2 separate regions of the Homo sapiens genome follow, and region 1 is linked to region 2. Evidence: promoter capture Hi-C in human tissues and cell types (Jung and others, 2019). All regions are on one chromosome and are shown on one strand. Each heading gives the region's core, a stretch centred on a gene start or on the middle of the fragment in contact. The rest is flanking DNA. Distances are from core to core; before and after follow the strand shown. Region 1 has its middle 85 kb from the start of LINC02873. Region 2 holds the start of ADAMTS8 (ADAM metallopeptidase with thrombospondin type 1 motif 8).

Region 1 (3,451 bases), core at 139-2,638, 330 kb after region 2:
TCCACTGTGAGAGTTACTTGAAGCTCGGCGTCCGTGATGGTCTAGGGGGCTTCTGAGGTGATCGGGCAGCATCAGTCTTCAGCCGCTAAGCCGAGAAGGAGTCAGTCAGAGAACCTTGGGCCAGAGTTCCAGGGGCGCTGGGAGTGGCTGCCAGGTGAGTTGAACAGTCCGATTTCCAGTGGGGTCCTGCACAGATGGGACATGGCTTAGGAGGAATCCTGGGCTGCGGGCATTCCTTGGCCTGGTGGTCAGATTTCTGGCACTTGTAGCAAGCTCCTGGAGGAGGTTCTGGAGGAACGCCTGGCCGCTGCGGTTCAGGCGTTTGGAAGTTCTTGTGTGCTGGAGATGTGGCTGGGGTTTGTCTCACAGTGGAGGCAAGGAATTGCAACTTTTTTCTATTATTGTACACCTTGAAGGCGAGGTTCATTAAATCCTGTGTGGGGTTTGAGGGCCGGAATTTAATTTTTGGAGTTTTATTTAATGTCGGGAGCAGATTGGGTAATAAAATGTATATTGAGAATAAGACGGCCTTTTGACCTTTTAGGGTTTAGGGCTGTAAAGCCTCTCAGGGTTGCTGCCAAACTAGCCATGAACTGGGCTGGGTTTTTATATTTGATGAAAAAGAGCCTAAACGCTATCTGATTTGGGATAAAGAAAAAGGAGCGTTAAACTTGACTATGCCTTTGGCTCCAGCCACCTTTTTAAGGGTAAATTGCTGGGCAGGTGGGGGAGGGCTAGTCACGGAATGAAACTGTAAGCCAGACCAGGTGTGAGGAGGGGAGGCGATAAAAAGATTACAGGGTGCAGGAGCGGAGGCTGAGGAAGAATTGGGACTTAGCTTGAGCTGGCGAGGAGAGGAGAGGTCAGATGGGTCTGTAGAAAAGGAAGATTAGAAAGACTCAGCGACGCTTGGGGTTGGGACTGAGGGGACAGGCGGGAGGGAAAGAAGGAAGATTTGGGACGAGTTGCACTGGGCACAGAGACTAGGAAGGGACAGATGTGTAAAAGAATGCCTGGACGTCAGGCACCTCAGAACATTTGCCCATTTTACGACAAGAATTATTTAGATCTTGCAGGATGGAAAAATTGAAAGTGCCATTTTCTGGCTATTTGGAACTACTGTCGAGTTTGTATTGGGGTCAAGTGGCATTGCAGAAGAAAATAAGGCATTTAGGTTTTAGGTCAGGTGTGAGTTGAAGAGGTTTTAAGTTTTTGAGAACACAGGCTAAGGGAGAAGAAGGAGGAATGGAAGGTGGAAGCTTGCCCATAGTGAAGGAGGCAAGCCCAGACAAAAGAGTAGAGACATGGAGTAGGGGTGGGGGGTTCTTGCCCTCCAGAAAAGCAGAGAAGGGGTTGGGGCACGGAAATAAGGGATTGGGGCGCAGAGATAAGAGGTTGGGGTGTGGAAATAAGCGATTGGGGGGTTCTTGCCCCCTAGGAAAGCGGGACTTGCCGCTGAGGGTGAAGGAGAAGGGGTTGAGGGGTACTTGCCCCTGCCCCAGGAAAGCAGGACTTGCCGCTGAGGGTGAAGAAGGGGTTGAGGGGTACTTGCCCCTGCCCCAGGAAAGCAGGACTTGCCGCTAAGGGTGAAGGACCGAGGCAGGCGTCCCTGCAAAGATTAAACACCAAGGGAAGGCTGCCTTCCCAGTCCGTGACCGGCGCCGGAGTTTTGGGTCCACGGATAAAATGCGTCTCCTTTGTCTCTACCAAAGGAATTGAAAGGAATTGAAATTAAGAGAAGGGAGAGATTGAAGTGTGGCACCAAGATTGAAAGGAGAAAGAGGTTGAGGGATAGTGAGGGAGGTTGGAGAAGAGAGTAAAAAGAGGCCACTTACCGGATTTGAAATTGGTGAGATGTTTCTTGGGCTGGTCGGTCTGAGGACCTGAGGTCATAGGTGGATCTTTCTCATGGAGCAAAGAACAAGAGGACGGGGGATTGATCTCCCAAGGGAGGTCCCCTGATCCGAGTCATGGCACCAAATTTCATGCGCGTCCGTGTGAAGAGACCACCAAACAGGCTTTGTGTGAGCAGTAAAGCTGTTTATTTCACCTGGGTGCAGGTGGGCTGAGTCCGAAAAGAGAGTCAGCGAAGGGAGATAAGGGTGGGGCCGTTTTATAGGATTTGGGTAGGTAAAGGAAAATTACAGTCAAAGGGGGTTTGTTCTCTGGTGGGCAGGAGTGGGGGTCTCAAGGTGCTCAGTGGGGGTGCTTTTTGAGCCAGGGTGAGCTAGGAAAAGGACTTTCACAAGGTAATGTCCTCACTTAAGGCAAGGACTGGCCATTTACACTTCTTTTGTGGTGGAATGTCATCAGTTAAGGTGGGGCAGGGCATATTCACTTTGTTTGTGATTCTTCAGTTACTTCAGGCCATCTGGGCATATACATGTAAGTCACAGGGCATGTGATGGCTTGGCTTGGGCTCAGAGGCCTGACTCCTATGAAGTATTATTAAGAAAAAATAAGGTTTGGAAAGCCTATAACTTGTCTATATTAAAATGTCAAATACATAGCAGAGCTGGATTCAAACCCAGGTCTCTTGGAAGACAAAGCCAGTGCTCTTCTGTCCTAACCACCTCCCTTCCAGATCTCAGTGATTTTGTCTTAATTCTCAAACCTCTACATATATGTTTTTCTTCAGTCATGAAGACTAAGATGAGAAATCGCCATTTCTTATCTTTGCATACCTCTGTTATAGTTTTGCAAATCCCGGTACATTCTTGCTTTGCCAGTTTTTCGTTTCTCAACATGCCTAGCCTTGGTTTACTTTGGGTTACTACAAAATGGATTGTTTGCCTGCCCTACGAAGCATTTACTACAACATATATCTCTGACTTTTACTCCTTCTATTGAGATTTTTGTGTGTCCTTTCTGGGTATCTAAATCAGTATGCCTGAATTTGATGTGAACTCCTAGCAGTCAGGTACTGTCTAAAATAGAGGTTCACGTTAGTTTGAAAAACAGTGGAGATATTCTGATTTGGTAAGGAAGACTGAGTGTAAATAGTAGTACCTAGCAATATTGATCAGGCACAAAAATATGGAACTGAGAAACATCCTGATAATGTCAGTTGGGAAGATACAATGATTTATGGAGTGCCTGGAAATCACAAGCTCCTGTATGTGATAGCTTCCAAATGGCTAGTATATATATTTTAAAAAGATAAAACTTATCTTTGGTGAGAATGACTATATGTCAAATGGCTGAAACCATGGATTTGATTTTCTTTTTAATAAGTGGAAATAGAGATGGCAACAAAACTTGCTTCATAACGTCTCCCCAGACTAGTCTTCTTTGGCTAGAAAAATGGATTTTGGAAGGATTTTGGATGTCTTCTCTCCAGTTCTCTTATCTTACAGATAAAATGGAAGCCCAGGGATAGAGTATTTTAGTTACCCCTGAATTTTCTGCACCAAGCAACGTAGCTGGCTCCTAAGAGGTGCCCCAGGAAGTG
Region 2 (3,741 bases), core at 585-3,084:
GGGTGGACCAAGTGTGGGTCTGGCTTTACTAGAGACATTCACCCAAAGAGCTCGTTCCAGCCCCTGCGCCCCTCGCGTTTCCACCAAAGCTTCAGCTCCTGGGCTGAGCCCCCAGGCAGAAGTTCTCTGCCCCTCCCTCTTGTGCTGGCTGCTGGCATTGCCAAGTTCTGCCGGGGCTGAGCGCCAGGTTGGCAAGGTAGTCCATGCCCCATTGATCACAACCAGCTGGCTGCACAGAAGTTGGGCAGCCCCTCTCCAGGTTCAGCTCCTTTCAAACAATGTCTTTTGCTTATGGCGACCTCCATACCCAAGGGAATCAGACAGCCATCTCTCTCCATCCCATCTGCCTTTCCCTGGGAGCCTCTCAGATCTGGAGGCAGTAGAGGGCTGAGGGGTGGGAGTGGGAGCTATTCGTAAACGCTCAATTTTCATCTCTGCTGGGAGAGGCAGGTGCCGGGGAATGCGTTGATACCCACTTTCGGGTCAGTGCGCCACGTGCCGCGGGAGATTCGGATGAGAGGGATGGGCGTCGGCAGCCCCACTCTAAACTGGAAGGGACCTGGGGGTGGGGGCGCAGGGATCCAGGGTGGCAGAAGTTCAGAAAAGAGTTACTGCTCTTTCTCAGACAGGAGAGAATCTCGTTTGGGGTAAGGCTGGAGAAGATGAGTGGGGAGGGCTTTTTTTTTTTTTTTTTTTTTTTCTCAGAGGGATTGGAAGGGGAGATTTTAGAGACGCTGGGAGGCGTCTGGGGGGCCTCCGGGCACGGCGGCTGGAGGAGGCTCTCAGTCCTACCTGCAGGTCGGCCCCGTAGAAGGCAGCCATGGACGCATCGGCCACCAGCAGCGTCTCCACGAAGCGCGCCTCAGACACAAACCGCTTGGTCCTACTCGTGGCCCCCAGGGGCGGTGGCGGCTCGCTAGCGCCTTCTGCCTCCTCTTCTTGGCTCTCCTCCTCGCTGTCCTCCTGGTGGTCTCCTCTCTCCTGCCTCTGACCCTCTCCCGTCTCCACCTCCCACTCGGGTCCTCGCGGGAGGGGGCGGGCTCCGGCGGGACCCCAGCGCTGCAGGCGGTGCGGCTGAGCCAGGGAGCCCCCCGCGCCCTGCGGCTGGATGGTGAACTCCTCGCCGTCCAGCAGGAAGGAGCCGCTCAGCCCGCGGCACAGGCTGACCGCCGCCAGCGACTCGGGCTCCCCATTCACGGTGCCGGAGAAGAAGCAGCCGCGCAGCCCCCGCTCGCCCCCGGTCGCCCGGCCGGAGCCCCCGAGGCGCTCGATCTTGAACTCGGGCGCTAGGAAGCTGTCGTCGGGCGCCAGGCGCAGCACGAAGCCCTTGCCGAAGGCGGACAGGTGGAGCGCGAGCTCGCCCGCGCTGCCGGGCAACCGCGTGGGCACCACCAGCTCCGAGGCCTGCCCCCCGGCTGCGGGCCGGGCCGGGGCGCCGCGGGCCAGCGGCAGCAGCAGCAGCAGCAGCAGCAGGAGCGGAGGCCACCGGGGGGCGGCGGGGGCGGGGAGCATGGGGGCTGCGGCGGTGGCTGCGCGCAGGAGAGGGAAGAAGCCCGCCAGGCGCGGGCAGGTGCTGGCGGCCCGAGCGCGGCCCGGCCGCTCTCTCCAGGAAAAGCGGAATCAATCGGGTGCAAGGCCGACTCGGCCCGCGGGGCCCGGCGGCGGGAGCGCTCCCCCGGCGGCCCCTCTGGCTGGCGCAGCCCGCTCCTCCCGCGCCGCCGCCCCCGAGCCGAGCGCGAGCAGCTGGCCCCGGCCCGCGTGCGCCCGTCCTCCGCCCCTGCCCGCGCCAGCCCCGCGCAGCCGCCTCCTGCCTCCTCCCCACCCCGGGAAGCACCGAGTGGGCTGCCGAGCCCTTCTTATTTATACTTCCTTCCCGGCTTGACATAAGAGGTTTATTTTTGATCTCTCACTATTCCCGTTTCCCCTCCCCTGGGATCAGAGAGAGAAACTGAAAAGAGGGAGAGAGAGTGGAGAAAAAAAAATTGGGATGAAATGCAAAACCAATCAGGCAGCGAGACCCGTCCGCCACCCGCCCCCCTGAAGTGTCAACTACAACTTCTTTCCTTTCCCTCTACGCGTGGACCCACGTTAACCCCTACCATGCTGGACTGACCCTTTAGAAAGAGTCCCTGGGAGACCCCAACCGCTTTCTCCTCTGCGGCCAAGAGTCCAGGATGCATCTTCCGAAGAGGCTCGTGCACTGGTCTCAGCGACCCTGTTCGGATCCCTGCAGAGTCCGACTGCAGAGCCCGACACTGTTGGGATCCCTGCAGATGCCTCCGGAGATCCGACTGTGTGGGGAGAAGGTTCCTGAGCTTTTCATTGTAAAGCATAAAGGGAGAGGAGGAAAAGGTCATGCTAAAATCATGCCCTCCTCTCATCACTACTGCACAGCCTTCCTAACTTTCACTCCAAACTGAAGATGGGGAAAACAAAAACAAAACAAAAAACAACCCACCTGGTTAACCCTAAGAGGGACTCTCACTGTCCTGTTAGAGGGCAGGTGGGGCAGAGGCCAGCACAGTGGTAAGTTACCAGCACTGAGGTTGGAAGTTAGCATTTCCCCAAGAGGGAAACAGACCTCCAGTCCCTGAAAAAGGTCTTCTCTTCTGGATACTGCTAGTTGCCCGGGACTTCAAGTAAGGTGGCAGGCCCTTTCACTGCGTTGCCACAGCCCCAGGAACAAATGTGTATGAGGTGAATTTATTCTGTCCCATGTCACCACTGCCCCCTAGGGAAGGGGGTAGTATTCAGGAAGAGAGGGATGACATGGTCTCAAGACCACAAAACTGCATCCCATCCCAGTCTCAATGACACAGGTCTGGATTGGGTGGAGGGCCCTGTTCTCTACCTACAAACTCTAGACTCATCCACCAACTGTGCCTTTCTCTGAGTTGTCAATGTGGGTGATGCATTAGGAACCGCTGGGATCAGGGCCTTTAAATCCTTTGCCAATTCACCTGCCCCCAGGTACCCAGCTCTGTGCTTATGCTGGGGATGTTGACAGTCGAGGTCATCGCTGATTCTTTTCAGCCCATCTGACCCCTTCCTGCAGTGTGGTGGTTCAGCATGCATCTGAGACTCTCAGGGCTTGTTACCTCCAAAGAGGAGGCTCTTGCCCAGGGGAAAGTGCTGCCAAATTCCCTCTAAGTATCCCCCCTCTCTTTGCTTTCTCAGAAACACAGAGGGACAGCTGTGAATTAGATGAAAGGATGAACTTCCCAACCTAGCATGGTGCAGAACCTCCTTTCCTGCATAATTTATAGGATAGGAATAACGAGTCTAGAATGTTTTGGGGAAACACTTCTAGAGGAAGGACAATGGAAAGAATGGTCTCTTCAACCCTTTTCTCAAAACAAGCAAAACACTTCGTCCTAGCACAGTGTACAGTGCTTGGGACATCCTGTACAGTGCTTGGGACAGTCTGACCTGGGCAAGCAATGAATACAACTCTGTGTTGCCTCAGGGCTATTGTAACAGTTCAATGACTGGTTTTTACCTCCTTGAAGCCCCTTATTTGCTGTTTCCCAGAGTACAACTCCTGATTTTCTCTTTTTGAGACACAGTCTCACTTTGTCACCCAGGCTGGAGTGCAATGGTGCGATCTTGGCTTACAGCAACTTCTCCCTCTCAGGTTCAAGAGATTCTCCTGCCTCAGCCTCCCAAGTAGCTGAGACTGCAGGCAGGCACCACCACACCTGGCTAACTTTTGTACTTTCAGTAGAGATGGGGTTTCACCAT

The links. Contacts are between HindIII fragments. The study calls those that stand out against the background at their distance.
Region 1: a fragment that was not itself captured here is called in contact with the fragment with the promoter of ADAMTS8 in region 2 in 1 of the 25 tissues and cell types used here (liver).

Annotation. Positions count from the first base shown.
Region 1 is chr11:130,756,705-130,760,155 of GRCh38, forward strand. No RefSeq gene overlaps it. Among named protein-coding and RNA genes, the nearest start is that of LINC02873, 85 kb to the left of the region's middle. RefSeq lists an enhancer at 1,966-2,554. The HindIII fragment of the contact is 6,683 bases long and covers 1-3,451 here.
Region 2 is chr11:130,426,775-130,430,515 of GRCh38, forward strand. ADAMTS8 (ADAM metallopeptidase with thrombospondin type 1 motif 8) reads right to left here and starts at 1,835. Exons shown (of 9, transcript NM_007037.6): 1 at 793-1,835. The coding sequence starts at 1,512. The HindIII fragment of the contact is 15,783 bases long and covers 1-3,741 here.